Regions from separate parts of the Homo sapiens genome. Here region 2 is linked to region 1. Evidence: promoter capture Hi-C in 16 types of primary human blood cells and fetal thymus (Javierre and others, 2016). All regions are on one chromosome and are shown on one strand. The core of a region is centred on a gene start or on the middle of the fragment in contact, and the rest is flanking DNA. Distances in the headings are between cores, read along the strand shown. Region 1 holds the start of GGN (gametogenetin). Region 2 overlaps SARS2 (seryl-tRNA synthetase 2, mitochondrial).

Region 1 (5,342 bases), core at 252-2,751:
GGGGCAGATTGATCCTTCCTCCCTCTTCCCTTCCCGCCCCCCAGCCCCAGCATCCTTCAGAACCATTTTACCCCGCCCCCCAGCTCAGAGGACGTAGCCCTCCGCCCAGTAATCGGGATCAGTGTCCAGCCCTTCACTGCCATCCAGCACAGGGACCCTGGCGTCCCAACCTTAGGGACCCGGACGAGCTCTAGCCCCCTCCCCCACCTGCAGGCTGCTGGGTTTCCCGGGCCCTTCAGGAGGGGAAGGGGCGGCTGCAGCGCCCCCAGCCCCCTTTTCTCAATGGGATGGGATTTTGTGAATGAGCAGTCACGTGACGCTGCTTCCTTTGTCCGCCCGCCTCCCCCGACAACAGGTGAAGCAGGGAATGAGAGCAGGGGTCCCCCCAGGGCCTAGCTGGAATGGGGCACTGGCATTTCAGGGTGGCCTACGCTCCCCACACATCCTGTGTCCCCCGGGGGGAGTGGTCCTCAGCGTTCCTCAACGGTGAGGGTCCAGGACGGAATTTTGTGAATGGGGCATCCTCGGAGAAAGTCCAGACCCCACAAATGAAGACTGGTACCCTGAATGGCTGCCGCGCAGTTTGGGGGGTCCCCACTCTCTAGTCCTCCTAGCCGGGGCCTTGGGGGCGCCTGGGTGGGCAGAAGGCGCAGCGCGGTCACGGCCGCCCCCTCATCGGGGCAGGCAGTCTGTCAGCCCCCGCCCCCTCGCCCCCCTCGGCACCTGCCTGCGAGGCTCCGGCCGGGCTCCGAGCGGCGGCGACGCGGCCTCCTCCTCCTCCTTTTCGTTCCGGCTCCCTGGCTGGCTCCGGCGGCGCTGGAGACGGGCACCGGGAGCCGGGGCGAGGGGGGAGGGAGGGGGAACCTGGAAGACGGGTGGGGGGGGAAGGGGCGGCTTGGGGGAGGGGTAAGAGCGAGGCGGGCTTACTTGCCTGCTGGGTCCTAGAGCCCGGCACTAGCTCCAGAGAGCAACCCCCCAGCCCCCATTTTCTTAAGATCCAGAGGGGATCCCCCACTTTTCCACCCATCTGCGCCATTGGTCTCTAATGCTATGAGGAGGGGACGGGGCAGGGACAGGGACTGGTCTCAAGGTTCTAAAGAGGTGGTGGTCTACGCTGTGGCTTGGGTGCCTGGCAGAGTTCGATAAGGGGTGGGGCGAGAGGGGAGCCTTCACAAGTGGGTGGGGTTGGAGGGCCTGGGTATAAGGAGGTTTGGATGCTGCAGGCGAGGACTAGTGCGTGCGTCACGAAGGGGCGGGCCCACGGTGGATGGGCCTTCTCGGCGCCCGGGGGGAAGGAGAGGGTCTTGAGAAGCGATGTTGCCGGGTCTTAAAAAGGCGGAGCTTAGAGGTAAATTGCCTTAGGGGCGGGGCAGATGAGAGGTCCAAAGGGGAGGAGCGACGCATCGGTGTTCGCGTGGGCGGGGCCTCGGGAGGGAATGAGAGGGGCGGGACATTCTAAAGGGGAGGGGCTAAGGAGAACAACCCAAAGGGGTGGAGCTTAGAACCAGAAGGCCTGGGGGCGAGGAACAAGACCTCGGAGTATTTCAAGGGGAGACCTAGGTTCGTAAGGGGCCGGGCTCCCGCGGGCTCGCAGGAGGGCGGGGCCTCGAGCTCCGGGGGCGGGGCCTACATCTCGGGGTCCGCCCTAGTTGTCTCGCCCACTTGCCTTCACCCGCACCCCCGTTCTTTTCGGTTATTTTCTGCTACGGCAGTTCCCTGCCCTGCCCCGGGCCCAGGGCGCCGCGGTCTGAACTCTGCTCGGCTGGAGGACTCGGTGAGTGGGTTCCTCTGGGGGGAGGCGGGGCCAGGGCGGAGCTTGGGGACAGGGGTGGAGCTTGACTGTGGATGCCAGCTAGTAGACCTGGAGCGGGAAGAGGTTTAGGGGTGAGGCCTGAGGATCTGCCCCTGCCTGGGAAGAGGGCGGGACCCAGGTGCTCTAGAGAGAGGCGGGGAGTCGGAGAGTTAGAGGAGAGGACTGAGGGATCAGCATGACCAGCCAAGGGGACAGGCATGGAACCTTAGTACATAATGGGGCTGGTAGTGAAGTATCTTAACAGCAGCTGTGTTGGGGACATGGGCAAGAAGGCGTGAGTGTCGAAGGTCGGGGAACAGGAGTGCGACCTAAGGACTTGGGCCTGATCGGATCTTGGAGAACAGGGGCGGGGCCGGTGCGGACGCATTAGATCAAGTACAGCCAGCCTCGTAGGGTCCCCACGGCCCTGGCAGGCTGACTGGAGTAAATTTTTCTGACTAGTCTCCGAGCTCCGTCAGAAATGGGGAACTTGCAGTCGGAGCCATCCGCGGGCGGGGGCTCCCGAAAAGTGCAGCCCTCGGACCGCGCCCCCGACTCCCGCCGGACGTCCCTGGTGGAGCCCGAGATGACCTCCCAGGCCATGCGCCTGACTCGTGGGCTGGGTGTCTGGTTCCCTGGCAGCGCCACACCCCCGGGACTCATGGTACCCCGGGAGCCCCAGGCCTCACCCTCGACCCTGCCCCTCACCTTAGAACGGCCCTCTCCAGTGATGCCCCCTCCTGAAGAGGCGGCCGCGGTCTCTGCACCACCCCCGGCCCCCGCGGGGACTCTGCTGCCCGGCCCGTCTAAATGGCAAAAGCCCGCGGGCACTCCAGTTCCCCGGATCCGCCGCCTGCTGGAGGCGAGCCATCGCGGCCAGGGCGACCCTCCGAGCCTCCGCCCGCTGAAGCCGCCGCCGCCGCCCCGGCAACTATCCGTGAAGGACACTGTCCCGAGGGCCCCATCCCAATTTCCGCCGCCCCTGGAGACTTGGAAGCCGCCACCACCATTACCTTCTGAACGGCAGCCGGCGGACCGCAGAATCACTCCTGCTCTGGCCACACCCGCCTCACCCCCGACAGAAAGCCAGGCTGGGCCCCGCAACCAGGGCCAGACGGCCGGCAGGGCTCGCGGAGGGGCGCCTCCCCATGCGGGCGAAGGCGAAATGGCCCAGCCTGCGGATTCCGAGTCCGGTCTGAGCCTGCTGTGTAAAATCACCTTCAAGTCGAGGCCCTCTTTGGCCCCTCCGGCAGCCTCGAGTTCCTTAGCAGCCAAAGCTTCGCTGGGGGGCGGCGGAGGCGGCGGCCTCTTTGCTGCCTCAGGTGCCATCTCTTACGCCGAGGTCCTGAAGCAAGGGCCCCTGCCTCCTGGAGCCGCTCGCCCCTTGGGAGAGGTTTCTCGAGGGGCACAGGAAGCCGAGGGAGGTGATGGAGACGGCGAAGGGTGCTCTGGTCCTCCCTCGGCGCCTGCGTCCCAAGCCCGGGCCCTACCGCCGCCACCCTACACCACCTTCCCAGGCTCGAAGCCCAAATTCGACTGGGTTAGCGCTCCCGACGGCCCTGAACGCCACTTCCGCTTCAACGGGGCTGGCGGAGGCATCGGGGCGCCGCGACGGCGTGCGGCCGCACTCTCTGGGCCTTGGGGCTCCCCTCCGCCACCACCAGAGCAGATACACTCAGCTCCCGGGCCCCGGAGGCCCGCACCTGCCCTGCTGGCGCCGCCTACGTTCATCTTCCCAGCACCCACCAATGGCGAGCCCATGCGCCCGGGGCCTCCAGGCCTGCAGGAGTTACCACCGCTGCCACCGCCCACACCGCCGCCCACACTGCAGCCACCAGCGCTCCAGCCAACGCCGCTGCCGGTGGCTCCCCCGCTCACCCCGGGTCTGGGCCACAAGGAGTCAGCCCTGGCTCCCACCGCAGCCCCTGCTCTGCCCCCAGCCTTAGCCGCCGACCAGGCCCCGGCCCCATCCCCGGCTCCAGCTCCCACCGTGGCTGAGCCCTCGCCGCCTGTGTCCGCGCCCGCACCCGCGGCTGCGCCCATCAAGACCCGCACGCGCAGGAACAAGGGTTCCCGTGCAGCCCGGGGCGCGACCCGTAAGGATGGCTTGCATGGAGATGGTCCTCGCGAACGAGCTACAGCTACCGTGCCTGACAGCAGTGGTGGAGGGGGTGGTGGCAGCGGGGCCTCTCAGACTGGGGCAGCTAACACCCGCGCTGCGCGCCACTGGCTGCCCTTCCAGGTGCTTAACTCCTGTCCCTGCAAGTGTTACTGCCACCACCAGCCACGCCATCGCCGCCTGCCACGCAACGTCTCTGCCTGGTGAGAGGGGAGAAGGGACAGGAGGGTGCCGAACCCCAGACTGCTGGATAGAGTCCTACTCAGCCCTTTGGCTTCCTGACCCTAGAATGACCCGTGGCCTTCATCTCTGCCACATCTCAAACCTAGCTGAGCTCCCACCCTTCAGGACCAAGAGGACCCATGATCCCATGCTGACCTTTGACGGGGAAAGGGGGACACCCTGGCCCAGCCCTATGGCATCCAATCCCTAAGTGGACTCTTGGCCCTCCTGTACCTCTCTTGGAGCCATTAGAGAGGGAGGCTGGTCCCAGCTGGCCTGACCCTATACACTGCCTTGACCCTGTCCCTGAGGGTATCAAGGAGGACCACGTCCGAGGCCACTCAGGGATGGGGGTGAGGGGATGACTGTCTTCCTGGAACTAAATGGGGGTAGATGCACGCCTCCAACTTTACTGGGCACAGGGGCAGCCCTGGACTCCTGACCCCTCTAGCCTCTGAGGACTTCTCCTGACTCTGGGACTCAAGGCTTCAGCCGCCAGAGGGCACTGATGTCCCAGCCCTTGTGCTGGGGAGGCTCCTCCTGAGTCCCACATCCAGGGGGACAATGCATCCTCCAGCCACCCCCTACCCACACTGAATCACCAGATCTGGCCACTGGGGTCTGATACTGACTCCTGGGAGTGCTGAACCACTGGGAGACTGCCCTGGACCTCTTGAAGCTTAGCTGGGACACTCGCCAGCCCTCAGCTCCCTTTCCTATTAAGTGGCCACAGCCCTGCCCTAAACTGCCTTTGGGATATTCCAATATAGCCTTCAGAAGCTTCCCTATTCATATGGGGACAGGGAGGCCCTAGAAGGGCTAGAGGCCTGGTCCCATTGCTGGGCTTTGCTGACTCTACCCTCCCCCACTAGGCTGAGCACATCCACCAACCACCTGGGCGAGCCACCCTGGGTTGCCACCATCAAGCTGTCCGGCTCTCTGGTGGCCAAGCTGGAGCACTACGACTTGCAGGCCACCCATTCCAACTGAGTGTAGTCGGCTCAACACCCTCCACCTTCCCCTCCATGCCAATAAAATAACCAATCCAGATGCCAGCAGCCTGTCAATCACTCGCCAAGGCAGTGGGTAGGGTGCAGCAGGGCAGGATCGCCATTAAAGCACATCTTGGAAACAATCGTGAAGCTGGACCAGAGCAGCAGTAACTGAGGTTCCATTCACCCAGCACCCAGACTGATGGGTCCAGGGCGG
Region 2 (4,878 bases), core at 2,304-4,803, 530 kb before region 1:
ACACTGCTATAAAGAAAACCTGAGGCCGGGCGCGGTGGCTCACGCCTGTAATCCCAGCACTTTGGGAGGCCGAGGTGGGCGGATCACGAGGTCAGGAGATCGAGACCATCCCGGCTAAAACGGTGAAACCCCGTCTCTACTAAAAATACAAAAAAATTAGCCGGGCGTAGTGGCGGGCGCCTGTAGTCCCAGCTACTAGGGAGGCTGAGGCAGGAGAATGGCGTGAACCCGGGAGGCGGAGCTTGCAGTGAGCCGAGATCCCCCCACTGCACTCCAGCCTGGGCGACAGAGCGAGACTCCGTCTCAAAAAAAAAAAAAAAAAAAAGAAAACCTGAGATCAGGCTGGGCGCGGTGGCTCACGCCTGTAATCCCAGCACTTTGGGAGACCAAGGCAGGTGGATCACAAAGTCAGGAGATCGAGACCATCCTGGCTAACATGGTGAAACCTTGTCTCTACGAAAAATACAAAAAAAATTAGCCGATCGTGGTGGCGGGCACCTGTAGTCCCAGCTACTCAGGAGGCTGAGGCAGGAGAATGGCGTGAACCCAGGAGGTGGAGCTTGCAGTGAGCCAAGATCGCGCCATTGCACTCCAGCCTGGGCGACAGAGCAAGACTCCGTCTCAAAAAAAAAAAAAAGAATACCTGAGACTGGGTAATTTATAAAGAAAAGAGGTTTAATTGACTCACAGTTCCATATGGCTGGGAGGCCTCAGGAAACTTAAAATCATGGCGGAAGGGGAAGCAAGGCACTTTCCCTTCCACATGGTGGCTGGAGACAGCCACAGGGGGTAACTGCCAAATGCTTTTAAACCATCAGATCTCGTGAGAACTCACTATCAGGATAACAGCATGGGGGAAACCGCCCCCAGGACCCGATCACCTCCCACCAGGTCCCTTCCTCAACAGGTGGAATTACAATTTGAGATATTATTTGGGTGGAGACACAGCCAAACCATATCACAGGGTTTACACGAATGCCTACCTCCTAAAGTGGATTTTGAAGAAATCATGGCATGGGAGAGCCCTGTACATAGAGCCTGGCATGGAGGCATCACTTCCTATACGGATCTGCGGCTGTGATTACTGTTAATTATCTTGCCTCCTTGTAGCGTTAGCAATAGAGAAACAGAAACACAGAGTTGCAGAGGGACCCAGCTAGGCACTGACAGAGCAGGAGACTAAGATCCTCTGGCCTTGTTTGACCTTTCACCATTTTTTCTCTTCCCCACCCTCGACTTTGTCAACCTAATCACCCACCCTGTCTCTTTTCTACCAGGCAAACCAGGACAGTGGTGAAGTGCAGCAGGTACTGTGAAGAGTTGATGTCCTATCCAGGGTTGGGGGTGGGCAGGGAGGATACCCTGCCAGTCACGATTCTACTATTGTAACAGAAAACAACTCAAACAGGTTTAAGGGGAAAAAAAAAATAGGCTCTATTGATGCATGAAACTAAAACTGGCTTCAGGTGCGGCTGGATCCAGGTGCTGGCTCCATATTTGGTCCTACGTTCCTCCCATTCCCAGGCCAGCTTTCTCTCCTTGTGTAAGTAGGAGGCAAAGTCAAGCACGCTTTCCTGATAGTTCCAGTTAAAGTCCTGGGGCTGATTCTCATGAGTTCAGCTGACATCAGGTGCCTGTCTCTGAGCCAGTCATTGTGGCCAAGGCAATAGAACGTTCTAGTTGGCCAGGCCTGATTCTTTTCCCCACAAACCTGCCATGTGGTGGTAAGGGAAGTTCTGCGAAGACGTTCAGGATCCTGGGCCTGGAGAAGAGGCATGAATGTCCACCACAGGGGCTCTGCCGGTCAGGATCAAGGTCACACTGGATGAGGGAGTCCTGACCCTCTCCCGGGCTGAGCCCACCTGTGCTGCCCCCAGGACCCCAAGTACCAGGGTCTGCGGGCACGTGGCCGGGAGATCCGGAAGGAGCTTGTTCACCTGTACCCCAGGGAGGCCCAGCTTGAGGAGCAGTTCTACCTGCAGGCGCTGAAGCTGCCCAACCAGACCCACCCAGACGTGGTGAGCACCGTGCTGGGTGGCAGGGAGGCCAGGGGCCCACCTAGTGCCACCTTTCCGTGACTCCTGCTGTCTCCCTGCAGCCCGTCGGGGATGAGAGCCAGGCTCGAGTGCTCCACATGGTCGGAGACAAGCCAGGTGGGCCACACCCCAGGCCTGGGAGCTGACAAGCCCTGCGGTGTGGGGGTTCTGGGGTCTCGGGGTGGGGGCCCCTGGGGTCTGGGAACATGTCTGGAGCCTGGAGAACTCCTGGCGGTACAGGAGGTGGCTCCAGCTTCCTGCCTTGGCCGAGCTCGAGCTGTCTCTGAGAGGCGGTCCTTGGGTTTTCATTCTCTCCCCCTTCACCATTGGGCAGTCTCACCCTGTGTTGTGTGATTGTATCGTATGTGTGTGAGTGTGTGTCGTGTATGTATGTGTTGTGTGACTGTGTGTCATGTGTGTCTGTATCTGTGTGTCTGTATCTGTATGTGTGTGTCTGTATCTGTGTATCTGTGTGTGTCTGTATCTGTGTATCTGTGTGTGTCTGTATCTGTGTGTGTGTGTCTGTGTTTGTGTGTGTCTGTATCTGTGTCTGTGTCTGTGTGTGTGTGTCTATGTGTGTGTCTATCTCTGTGTGTGTATATCTGTGTTTGTGTGTGTGTGTGTCTGTGTGTGTCTATGTATCTGTGTGTATGTATCTGTGTGTCTTTCTCTGTGTCTGTGTGTATGTGTCTGTCTCTGTGTGTCTGTGTGTGTATCTGCATATCTCCGTGTATCTCTGTGTGTATGTCTGTATCTGTGTCTGTGTATCTGTGTCTTTGTGTGTATCTGTGTGTGCGTGTCTGTCTTTGTGTGTCTGTATCCGTGTATCTGTGTGTCTGTCTCTGCGTGTCTGTGTATGTGTCTGTCTCTGTGTGTCTGTATATGTGTGTGTGTCTTCGTACCTCTGTGTGTATCTCTGTGTGTGTATGTATGTGTGTGAGTGTGTGTGTGTCTCTGTCTCTCTCTCTGACCCCCCTGCTTTGGTCCCTGTCTCCGGGGCTTTTTCTCCCCAACTCTGTGCCTCCTCTCTGATTCTCCTCCTCCCTTCCTCGTGGTGTTTCCTTCTCCTCTGGCCTCTCTCCTCTGTTTCTAACTCTGCCTTCCCCACCCCGCGCCCTCTTATTTCCCTCTCTGCCTCCTCTCATTTCCTCTCCCTGTCTCTGTTTTTATCTCCCTCCCTTCCTGTCTGTCTTTTCTTCCCTTTCCCTCCCTTTCCGTGTCTTCTTCTCCCTTCTCTCCTCCTGCCCCTCCTTTATTTTCTCTCACCGTCCCTCCTCTCTGCTGTCTCTGGAAGCTTCTATCTGGGCCCCATCCCTCTCTCCCCGCTGCCTTACACCGGTGCTTTTCACCCACATCCAGTTTTCTCCTTCCAACCTCGGGGCCACCTGGAAATTGGCGAGAAACTCGACATCATCCGTCAGAAGTGAGCCCCTCCCCTGGCTCCCCACGCCCCTCTCCCAGCTGCCTGCACCCCGACAGCTGGCTCCTGCCTCATTGGCCTCAGCGTGAGATGTGGAAATGCCATGAATCTTTGATGCCCCAGCCCCACCCAGCAGCCGGGCCTCTTCCCCCGGGTGTTTTCATCCCCACATTCCCTGCCAGCCTGGCCCATGTGCACCCGCCTGTCTGTCTGTCTCCCAGGCGCCTGTCCCACGTGTCTGGCCACCGGTCCTATTACCTGCGCGGGGCTGGAGCCCTCCTGCAGCACGGCCTGGTCAACTTCACATTCAACAAGCTTCTCCGCCGGGTATGGGCCAAGATAGGAGGGCTGCCTGGAGGGGGTGGCATCGAAGCTGAGCTCAGAGGGCCCAACGGGGATGGGAGTGATCTCTGCTCTGCCCTAGTCACTGCTCTCAGAGCTTCATGTGTATCATTGACACATTTAGTCCTTACGACAACTTTATGAAGTGGGTGCTGTCATCATCCCCACTTTACAGAGAGGGCTTGAGGCCCAGAGAGGGGAGGTACCTATAGCCCAAGGTCTCACAGCCAGTCTGGAGCTGGGCCTAGAGCCTGTGCTTGTAATCATTGCACCTCACTGCCTGCTTGCGGTATAAAGGGAGCATTTGGGAATCATAGCATCCATTGAAACATGGCAGGGACTGGTTGCATGGAGCATTGGTCACGGTGAGGAACTCAGACATTTTCAGAGGGTACTAGGGAGCCATGGGAGGCTTTTAAGCAGGGGAGGGTGTGGCCAAATCTGTACTTTTTTGTTTTTTGAGACGGAGTCTCGCTCTGTCACCCAGGCTGGAGTACAGTGGTGCAATCTTGGCTCACTGCAACCTCCACCTCCCGGGTTTAAGTAATTCTCCTGCCTCAGCCTCCTGAGTAGCTGGGATTACAGGCACATGCCACCATGCTGGCTAATTTTTTTTTTTTTCTTTTTGACAGAGTTCGCTCTGTCACCCAGACTGGAGTGCAGTAGCACGATCTCCATGCCGGCTAATTTTTGCCTTTTTAGTGGAGAGGGGGTTTTGCCATGTTGGCCAGGCTGGTCTCAAACTCCTGGCCTCAAGTGATCCGCCCACCTCAGCCTCCCAAAGTGCTGGGATTACATGGGTGAGCCACTGCGCCAGCCCCTGCCTCAGTTTCGTCTGAGGAGGAAGGGGCTCTGCAGCACCCCTTCTTCAGGGCTGAGCTTGGGGTCTGGTAGGGGTCCCAGCTCTGCTCACTCATCCTCTCCCCTGAACAGGGCTTCACCCCCATGACGGTGCCAGACCTTCTCCGCGGAGCAGTGTTTGTGAGTGAGGCCTCTCCGCTTCCCTCGCCCACCTGGGTGTCAGGCCCTGCCGTGGGTGCCCGAGGCAGGGAAACCTGAGGAGACCGCCCTGGGGCTGGG

Evidence for each region. The method cuts DNA at HindIII sites, captures the fragments that hold promoters and counts their contacts. A CHiCAGO score of 5 or more calls a contact.
Region 2: a fragment that was not itself captured here is called in contact with the fragment with the promoter of GGN in region 1 in 11 of 17 cell types (naive CD8 T cells, non-activated CD4 T cells, naive CD4 T cells and 8 more); the score reaches 10.5 in naive CD8 T cells.

The regions. Positions count from the first base shown.
Region 1 is chr19:38,384,193-38,389,534 of GRCh38, reverse strand. GGN (gametogenetin) reads left to right here and starts at 1,501. Exons shown (of 4, transcript NM_152657.4): 1 at 1,501-1,560; 2 at 1,713-1,774; 3 at 2,255-4,114; 4 at 5,006-5,268. The coding sequence starts at 2,274. The coding sequence ends at 5,123. It overlaps SPRED3 (sprouty related EVH1 domain containing 3), which reads right to left and starts at 838. Exons shown (of 6, transcript NM_001394336.1): 1 at 728-838. RefSeq lists silencers at 1-6, 1,466-1,705. The HindIII fragment of the contact is 15,577 bases long and covers 1-3,071 here.
Region 2 is chr19:38,918,667-38,923,544 of GRCh38, reverse strand. SARS2 (seryl-tRNA synthetase 2, mitochondrial) reads left to right here. Exons shown (of 16, transcript NM_017827.4): 3 at 1,278-1,307; 4 at 1,878-2,018; 5 at 2,099-2,153; 6 at 3,396-3,459; 7 at 3,678-3,783; 8 at 4,732-4,779. Among named protein-coding and RNA genes, the nearest start is that of CCER2, 8.9 kb to the right of the region's middle. RefSeq lists an enhancer at 4,536-4,878. The HindIII fragment of the contact is 441 bases long and covers 3,333-3,773 here.